Regions from separate parts of the Homo sapiens genome. Here region 1 is linked to region 2. The links are contacts of gene promoters, found by promoter capture Hi-C in blood cells and fetal thymus (Javierre and others, 2016). All regions are on one chromosome and are shown on one strand. The core of a region is centred on a gene start or on the middle of the fragment in contact, and the rest is flanking DNA. Distances in the headings are between cores, read along the strand shown. Region 1 has its middle 79 kb from the start of FOXK1. Region 2 holds the start of RADIL (Rap associating with DIL domain).

What was found. Contacts are between HindIII fragments. The CHiCAGO score rates a contact against its expected background, and 5 or more counts as called.
Region 1: a fragment that was not itself captured here is called in contact with the fragment with the promoter of RADIL in region 2 in 1 of 17 cell types (naive CD8 T cells); the score reaches 5.3 in naive CD8 T cells.

What each region holds. Positions count from the first base shown.
Region 1 is chr7:4,600,917-4,605,756 of GRCh38, reverse strand. No RefSeq gene overlaps it. Among named protein-coding and RNA genes, the nearest start is that of FOXK1, 79 kb to the left of the region's middle. RefSeq lists an enhancer at 970-1,471. The HindIII fragment of the contact is 1,694 bases long and covers 1,282-2,975 here.
Region 2 is chr7:4,880,729-4,885,667 of GRCh38, reverse strand. RADIL (Rap associating with DIL domain) reads left to right here and starts at 1,952. Exons shown (of 15, transcript NM_018059.5): 1 at 1,952-2,072. RefSeq lists a silencer at 1,921-2,140 and enhancers at 1,850-2,537, 2,538-3,226, 2,956-3,250. The HindIII fragment of the contact is 2,924 bases long and covers 831-3,754 here.

The DNA.
Region 1 (4,840 bases), core at 879-3,378, 280 kb after region 2:
TGAGTGAGAAGTACATTTTTATTTTATTTAAAATTTTAGAGACAGGGTCCCACTGTTGCCAAGGCTAGAGTACAGTGGTGTGATCATGGCTCACTGTAGCCTTGACCTGGCTCAAGCAATCCTCCTGCCTCAGCCTCTTGGGTAGCTGGGGCTACAGACACATGCCACCATGCCTGGCTAAATTTTTATTTTTTTGTGTGTAGAGATGGGATCTTGCTGTATTGCCCAGGCTGGTCTCGAACTCCTGGCTTCAAGTGATCTTCCCACCTTGGCCTCCCAAAGTGCTGGGATGGCAAACCATGAAAAACCATGCCTGGCATTTAAGCTGTTGAGTGTTTGAGGCTTGTTTGTTACAATGGCTTGCCTTACTGATACACCAGGTAAGAAAGGGAAGGTAGATGGAGAGGAGCAGAGCTGGCAAACGAAGACAGCCTCTCTTTGAGGCATATGCAGCATAGCTGGAAATCCACAGACACAACCCTGAAATGATGTATGGCGCCCCAAAGCAGGACACCCTAGCAGAGGCACCAGTTGGAACCCAGAGGGAGCAGGCATTTTGGGCAGGATTCCTAGTTGCAAACCACACAGGCCACTCTGGATAGAAAGGAATTTAGGTAGCTTAGTGACGTGTTGGGTGGGAAGGGGTTGGGACAGAGATCAGAGATCAGAAATGGAGGCCATGGGCTGGGCACAGCGGCTCACGCCTGTAACCCCAGCACTTCGGGAGGCTGAGGTGGGAGAATTGATTGAGCCTAGGAGTTCAAGACCAGCCTGGGTAACATAGTGAGACCCCATTTCTACACAAAATTTAAAGAAATTAGCTGGGCATGGTAGCGTGGGCCTGTAGTCCCAGCTGCGCGGGAGGTTGAGGCAGGAGAATCAGCTGAGCCAGTGTAACACCCGTGTGACCCCACAGGACCCCATGGAGACGCTCCTCCCACCACTTTCTCTCCACGGCCCCCCACGTGGGGTATGCCCCACCAGGGCTCTGTTATGGCTGCCTCTCAGTCCCATATCGCTTTCCATAGGGTGGTGTCCTTCCTCAGGTGCTCTCGTTTGGGTGGGGGCCTTGTGGAGATGCATCTGATGGGCGGCACCTGTGCGAGGTGCCGGCTCTCGAGGGTGTCTGGGAGGCTGAGTCCTGGCTTCCAAGGGGAGAATTCCTTGCAGTTGTGGGAAGGTGTTTTGAAGGCCCTGCATGGCAATGTCCAGGACAAATGATCACGACTTGAGGGTTTATTCCTCCTAGGGCACAGAGCAAGCTAGGGCGAGTGAGAAGCTTCTCGGGGAAGCTGTGGCATTTGACTTGGGGCTTGAGAAGTGAGTAGAGTTTTGAACAATGGAGAAGAGAAGCAATGCGGGGGGTCTCAGGCTGAGGAGCCTGCAGGGAAAAGGCAAGGCAGGGTTTGGTTCAGAGGGTGGTGGTTGTGTGCGGGGGTGTGAGAGTGATGTATGCTTATGTGTGTGTGTGATTGTGTATGTGTATGTATTTCTGCATGCTTATGTGTGTGGTATGTGTGTACCTGTGTGTGTGGTGTATGTGTGTTATGTGTTGCATGTGTGTGGTATGTGTGCATGTATGCACATGCAGGCATGTGATATGTGTATGTGTATATATGTACGTGTTGTGTGCATATGTGCATGTGTGCACATGTGTGCTTAGATGTGTAATGTGTGTACGTGCACATGCGTGTTGTGTATATGCACGTGTGTGAGATGTATGTGTGTATTGTGCACACACGTGCTAGTTTGTCATATGTATGTGAGCACACGTGTGTGGTGTGTATATGTGTTTGTGAGTGGTGTGTATGTGAGCACACGTGTGGGGTGTGTATATGTGTGTTTGTGAGTGGTGTGTATGTGAGCACACGTGTGTGGTGTGTATATGTGTTTGTGAGTGGTGTGTATGTGAGCACACGTGTGTGGTGTGTATATGTGTTTGTGAGTTGTGTGTATGTGAGCACACGTGTGTGGTGTGTATATGTGTGTTTGTGAGTGGTGTGTATGTGAGCACGTGTGTGGTATGTGTGTGAGTGGTGTGTATGTGAGCACACGTGTGTGATGTGTATATGTGTTTGTGAGTGGTGTGTATGTGAGCACACGTGTGTGGTATGTGTGTGAGTGGTGTGTATGTGAGCACACGTGTGTGGTGTGTATATGTGTGTTTGTGAGTGGTGTGTATGTGAGCACACGTGTGTGGTGTGTATATGTGTGTTTGTGAGTGGTGTGTATGTGTGCATGTGCTTGTGTGGTATGCATGCATGTGTGCACGTGTATGTGTGGTGTGTGCACATGCATTGTGTGTGTGTGTGTGTGTTGTGCAGTGTGTGAAGGGAGACAAGGCTGGCTGGTGGTTGGGACCTGATCAAGGAGGACTTTGAATTTCAAGCCATGACGTCCGATCTTTGCAGATGTGGGGAGCCCTGGAGTTTTAGGGCAGGCGGTGGACACTGTGGCTTGGGCTGCTAGAAGGTGACTGTGGCCCGGCGGAGGCCGGCCTGGGCATTCCAGGAAGTGGGCCAGGAGACACATCAGGGAGGAGGTGCTGTGCTGACAGGGGGAGCCCCCAACGGCGTGGGACTTGGGAAGCTGACTGGGGGCCCAGGCCTAGCCTGCCTCATGGGGAAGGCTTTGCAGGGAATGCTGGGGCCACACAGGTGCAGGAAGCTGGGTCAGCACGGGGCAGGGGAGTGCTCCGGCTCAGCTGTGCCTCGTATTGGGATCTCGTCTGGGGTATTCTGGGGAGAGCCTAGTACCTGAGATACTTGCTTCCTGAAGCCAAATAAGGCAAGGTGGAGAAGCAAGGGTTGGGTCAGGACCAGAATCTCAGGCCAGGCAACCAGTAGGAAATGAGGACAAGGGACCAGGGAGTGGATACAATGGTCCCTGTGTCTTTCCCAGGGAGTTTGAATGGTTCCCATCAGGAGGGAGAGCAGGTTGGCAGTGTGCATCAAAAACGTCTGCAACTCTAAGCTTTAGGTTAGGAAAATGAAAGGAAAGAAAGAAAGAAAGAAAGAAAGAAGGAAGGAAGGAAGGAAGGAAGGAAGGAAAGAAAGAAAGAAAGAAAGAAAGAAAGAAAGAAAGATAGAAAGAAAGAAAGAAAGAAAGAAAGAAAGAAAGAAAGAAAGAAAGACAGACCACGAAAAACAAATTCTAGCACTGCTTCCAATCCACAGGCTTGGTGTTTTTCAAAGAAGTTTACAGTCAGTGATTTACTACCCTAAGACTTGAAGATAGATGATTTGGGTTTGCACATGCTGACACACACCATATTCTCACTCTCATTTGCAGAAAAGACATGATTTCTTTTTCTGGGATTGCCTTCCATCTCCAGATAAAATCCTGAATGTGTCAAAGGGATCTTAGAAACTGCATAATTTTATCTGCATGCTGAATATTCCGGAAGCTGCAGGGCAGCAAGTTGTGTTGTGGTTGCAGTGAAGAGGTACTCATTCTCAGTGGTTCCCCATGTTACTGGCTGAATTATGTTTTTATCCCATGTTTTTTGACTTGTGAACTTCCATACATTTAATTTTGCATATAAGGCATTTGCAAACAATACATCCACATTTATAAAAGCGAAACAGCTATAAACACATGAGCATGTACAACACAATAAACACACATTCTATCATGTGCTTTTTTTGGGTTTTTTTTGAGATGGAGTCTTGCTCTGTCGCCCAGGCTGGAGTGCAGTGGCACCGTCTCGGCTCACTGCAACCTCCACCTCCTGGCTTCAAGTGATTCTCCTGCCTTAGCCTCCTGAGTAGCTGGGATTACAGACGCCCACCACTACGCTCGGCTCATTTTTATATATTTAGTAGAGGCGGGGTTTTGCCATGTTGGCCAGGCTGGTCTCGAACTCCTGATCTCAAGCGATCCGCCCACCTCGGCCTCCCAATGTGCCGCGACTACAAACACGCTCTACCATGCCTGGCTAATTTTTGTATTTTTAGTAGAGATGCGGTTTCACGACGTTGGTCAGGCTGGTCTTGAACTCCTGACCTCAGGTGATCCACCCACCTTAGCCTCCCAAAGTCCTGGGATTACAGGCGTCAGCCACTGCGCCCTCCCGGTGGTAGTTTTTATTCGTATCAATTTAAAAGATACAGTGCAGTTTTGTTACATGGATATGTTTTCTTGTTACAAGGATATATTTCACAGTGGGGAAGTCTGGGCTTTTAGTGTAACCATCACTTGAATAGTGTACATCGTACCCATTGAGTAACTTCTTATTCCTCTCTCCCCCTGCCCCCACCCTTCAGAGTCTCCAGTGTCTATTATTACACATTCTATGTCCATGGGTACACGTGATTTAGCTCCCACTGATAAATAAGAACATGCCATATTTGATTTTGTTTCTGAGTTGCTTCTTTTTTCTTTCTTTTCTTTTTTTTTTTTTTGAGATGGAGTCTTGCTCTATTGCCCAGGCTGGAGTGCAGTGGGTGCGATCTCGGCTCACTGCAAGCTCCACCTCCCGGGTTCACGCCATTCTCCTGCGTCAGCCTCCCGAGTAGCTGGGAGTACAGGCGCCCGCCATCACGCCCGGCTAATTTTTTGTATTTTTAGTAGAGACGGGGTTTCACCGTGTTAGCCTGGATGGTCTTGATCTCCTGACCTCATGATCGGCCTGCCTTGGCCTCCCAAAGTGTTGAGATTACAGGCGTGAGCCACCGTGCCCGGTCCTGAGTTGTTTCTTAAAAAAAATTTTAGATTCAGGGCCAGGGGCAGTGGCTCACGCCTGTAATCCCAGCACTTTGGGAGGTCAAGGCGGGTGGCTCACCTGAGGTTGGGAGTTCAAGACCAGCCTGACCAACATGGAGAAACCCCGTCTCTCCTA
Region 2 (4,939 bases), core at 703-3,202:
TGTAAAATCCTGGTTGCAGGAAAGCAGTCGTAGATAATATCTAAACAAATGAGGGTAGCTGTGTTTGAATAAAACTTTATTTACAAAAACAGAAGGCAGCCCAGATCTGGCCCATGGGTTGTAGTTATCCGACCCCTGTGGAAGAAGGATGTGGGGACTGTGGGAGATGGGCCAGGAGCAGGGTGAGGAATATCTCAGGAGGAAAACCCAGGCCTGAACCCAGGCTCTCCTTCAGCTCTGACCATTGTCTCTTCATGCGCACCTGAATGAAATATTCAAGCACGTCATTCCTTTCAAGCATCCCTTCCTGGGGTAGGCGAGGAGGTTGGTGTGTATACAGAGGGTCCTGTATTCCTGGCTCAGTTCTTGTCTCTACCTCCAGCAGCCTGACCTCTCTGCGTCTCTATTTTCTCATCTGAAAAATGGGAGTATTACTGAACAAAAGGGTTCTGCGCTTGCTCTGCTAGAAGCCAATCTTGATCAGGTGCAGAGGTTCATGCCTGTAATTCCAGCACTTTGGGAGACTGAGGTGGGTGGATCACCTGATGTTAGGATTTCAAAACCAGCCTGGTCAACATGGCAAAACCCCGTCTCTACTAAAAATACAAAAATTAGGTGGGCGTGGTGGTAGGTGCCTGTTAACCTTAGCTACTCGGGAGGCTGAGGCAGGAGAATCGCTTGAACCTGGGAGGTGGTGGTTGCAGTGAGCTGAGATCACACCACTGCACTCCAGCTAGGGCAATAGAATAAGACTCTGTCTCCAAAAAAAAAAAAAAAAAAAAAAAAAAAAAAAGCCAATCTTACTGCATTAAGTTTTTGAGACAAAAGCTTTTTTTGTCCGTATTGTGAGTTGATCAATAAGGAGACAGGAGCCTGGCTCAAATCTGTCTCTCTGTGTTGACTTTGAGGCACTATTTTTTATTAGAAAAGGTTTAGGAGGTGGACTTTAGGATTAGCAGGTGATAGGTGGAGGAAAGGGGAGGCCTGGAATGTCTCAGACATCTCTGTCTCACAAGAATTGATGTGAGCATTAAGTGAGGTGACCTAGGTAAAGTTGCCTAGGGCCTGGCACACAGGTGGTCAATAAATGTCTGTTCCCACACTCATCAATGTCTGCTCCGACCTCCATCGCGAATATGGGGTCATGACTACGGAAATCATACCACGATAGCTGTCCACAAAAAGGTTCACTCCCGAGGCCCACATTCTGCATATTGATATTCCGAACCACCTGAATCTCCCAGGTCTAGCCCACATTCCTCAAAGGGAAAACCCCAGCCAAAGTGCCGAGGTCACGAGCTGCTTTTTAAACAAGTCCCCAGGGAGAGCAGTTGGGGCCAGAGCCCCAGAGCTGACCTGGTCATTTTTTTGCATAATTGTAAGCAGGAATGCCATGACCTGATTTGTCTTTTAAAACTCTGGGTGGGAGACAGATGGTAGGGGAGAGGAAATTCCTCCCTTGTTCCTTTTCGATGTCTTAGAAGATGTTTATTAATTGGGGGCACAGCTCTACCCTCCCCTACACCCACTCACTGGGCTACTAGAAGGTGCTGTCTCGAAATAGCCCACCCAACCGCAGGAGCCCAGAGCCCACAAGCAGCTCAGGGACTTAGAACTGGTCCCACCCTTCCTCCGGGGACCCCCCCTCCTTAAGCTGCAGTCTGTGGGTGGGCTGCAAGTCCCGCCTCTCCACAACCAGCCCCACCCCTTTCTTCAAAACCCCGCCTCTCCGGTGAGGCCCCGCCCCCTCGAGGCTGCATCCCCGTCCATTGGGCGGCCGGCAGGAGGCGCCAGAGCACAGCCCGCCTTTTCTAGCAGGTTGGCCCCGCCCCTCTCCTGGAGACCCCGCCTCCTCGAGGCTTTCTTTCTGCCTATTGGGCGCCGAGGCCCAGCTCCAGCCCACCTGTTCTCCCCCGCCCCACCCTTTGTGGCCCCGTCCCCTTGAGGCCCCGCCCCGCCCGTTGCGCCGCCGGCAGGAGGCGCCGCGGCACGCGCGGGTCTGGGCGCCGGCCCCAGCCAACGGCGGGTGGGAGCAGCGCGGGAACGTGGCGGCGCGGCGGGTTGTGCCGGAGGTGAGTGTGGGGTGCGCGAGGAGTGACTGCGGAACCGGGGGTGGCTCGTAAGGGGCGCTGCTCGGCCGCTGCCGGGGACCTGGGGCGCGGAGGCCGCGGGGCGCGCTCGGGGACACTCCCGGCCGCTGGTCGGGGCGCGGAGGGCAGGTTTGCCCAGTTGCCATGGGAACCGACTGGCTGTCGGGCCCCGGCCTGGACCGGGGGGCGGTACCCGGAGGCCGGCTAGCGCGGGCAAGGGCGGCCCAGCCTGCGGGGATCCGGGGGTCCGCGCTGCCGACCCCCGAGAGCTCCTGAGCCTGGCTGTCCGCGTGGGCCCCGGACCCCCAACTCCAGGGGACTCTCGGCCCTCAGTTTTCCCGGCTGTGCCCTGGAGGGGGAGCTTCGTCCGGGGCGCGCAGCGGGGGAGCGGGGCGCAGCGGGGGAGCGGGGCGCAGGGTTCCGCGCGCTCTCCCACCTGGGCCGGCGAGACGTCCCCTGCACATACCCCGTCCCGGTTGCAGCCCGATCCCCACTCGTGCGCCAGCTCAAAGCATTGTTTCCCGGCTATTTATGTACCATTTCCAGCCCCTCGACAAATACTGCATCCAAGATAACAGATGCTGAGCCGAGCTCCTGGGGCCTCGCAGGAGGAGCCTGTTGGTGGGGTTGGCAGGGCCCTGGCGGGGCTGCGGACCATCCTGCCCTGCCCTGTCGCCTGTCAAGTGTTTGGCTAATCTGAATTGCACAGAAGAATCTGATTGCTCGTGTCCCGCGGTTAATATAGGCCACCTCTTGTGCATTCCAGACAGGAACCAGTCTTGAAAGTCCCTTTTGCTGGGGGGCAAGTCGGTCTCCTCTCCAGCAGCTAGCAGGTCAGAATTAAATCTGATTGAATTATGTTTGCATTTGAAAGCGTGGCTCGGGCTGGGGCTGTAAAGATAGGATTCATGGAAGGAGGGGAGAGAGCTGAGTGTGTAAAGTCTGCGCTTCGTTTTCCCTCCTGCTGGAAATGATAATGGGTTCCACATTGTCCTGTTGGAGCAGAGAGGTCGCTCCACCCATGTCGTCAGCGCAGCACTGACCTCACTCCCTGTACTCGCCGCTGGGACTTGAGCTTGTTTTTCATCAGAAACTGGACCCTTCCTTGAGAACAAGAGAAAACATTCTCTAAGAGCAGCACCAGCCAGCGCCCCACACCCTCGCTGTCCGAGCCCTGCGCTTTCCCCAAGTATTTGTGTCACAGAGGAGCGAATGGGGCAGAAGAGGCCGGTCGCACTTCCAGAAAAACAGATCTTGTTACCCAGGGCGTGCTCCGCCCGGTCGGATTTTCCTGCACTCCCCTTGGCCTTTTAAAAAACGAGTCCATCCCATTCTCACAAACAGGCCAGGCTCCGCCTTCTGGGATTCGGAAGCGGGCAGCGTGTGAACAAGTGGGCACCCTCTGGTCTGGCCAAGGGAGGATGACCAAACGGAGAGAAATGCTTTCTGAAAATCCCAAAACAGATAAGGTTTGTGTAACAGGGACTTCTGGGGGCTTAAGAAGGAGTTATTGGAAAGGAGTCAATCATATTCTCTCTGCTTACATTTTCTCCTGTTTCATGATACTGCTAACTCTGCCTCTGCCTTCGAATCCGGCTCCGGAAACTGTGGGAAAAGCAGGGGTGGGGGGAAGTGGGGGGAACAACATTTCTGAAGTTCAAGCTTCTAAGACCCTGGGAGGAGACCTAGCAGTTGTGTGTTTGTAATTTTCTATTTGTTTTTTATTAAAGAAGAATTATGTAAATGTCAGACCTTACAAAACATATATCCACCCCTGGGCCCCAAATATCAACTCACTTTTCCATTGTATTTGGGGGCCTTTTTATAATTTTTGTCTTTTTTTTTTTTTTTGAGACGGAGTCTCACTCTGTTGCCCAGGCTGGAGTGCAGTGGCGTGATCTCGGCTTGCTGCAACCTCTGCCTCTGGGGTTCAAGCGATTCTCCTGCCTCAGCCTGCCAAGTAGCTGGGGTTACAGGCACCCGCCACCATGCCCAGCTAATTTTTGTATTTTTAGTGGAGACAGGGTTTCACCATGTTGGCCAGGCTGGTCTTGAACTCCTGACCTCAAGTGATCTGCCCGCCTCGGCCTCCCAAAGAGCTGGGATTACAGGCATGAACCACCATGCCCAGCCAATTTTTGTCTTTTTTTTTTTTTTTTTTTTGAGAGGGAGTCTCACTCTGTCGCCCAGGCTGGAGTGCAGTGGCATGATCTTGGCTCACTGCAAGCTCCGCCTCCCGGGTTCACGCCATTCTCCTGCCTCAGCCTCCCGAGTAGCTGGGACTACAGGTGCCCACCACCACGCCTGGCTAATTTTTTGTATTTTTAGTAGAAAAAGGGTTTCATAGTGTTAGCCAGGATGGTCTCGATCTGCTGACCTCGTGATCTGCCCGCCTCAGCCTCCCAAAGTGCTGGGATTACAAGCGTGAGCCACCGTGCCCAGCCATCTTTTTTTTTTTTTTTTTTTTTTTTTTTTTAACAGAGAGGGTCTCACTCCATTGCCCAGGCTGGAGTGACGTGGCGCAATCATAGCTCACTGTAGCCTGGAACTCCTGGGCTCCGGTGATCCTCCTGCCTCAGCCTCCCGAGTAGCTGGGACTACAGGTGCACACCATGCCCAGCTAATTTTTTATTTTTATTTTCTGTAGAGATTGGGATCTTGTTATGTTGCCCAGGCTAGTCTTGAACTCCTGGCCTTAAGCCATTCTCCTGCCTTGGCCTTTTAAATACTTGGCTCTGCTTCATGACTTTTCTGTGATATGGGCTTTCTCCTGCCTGGAGGGGGCTTCCCCAGTTTTTGGTATCGTATTTATATCAGCATTCAGACTTCATCTCCGGAGGCAGAGGTTT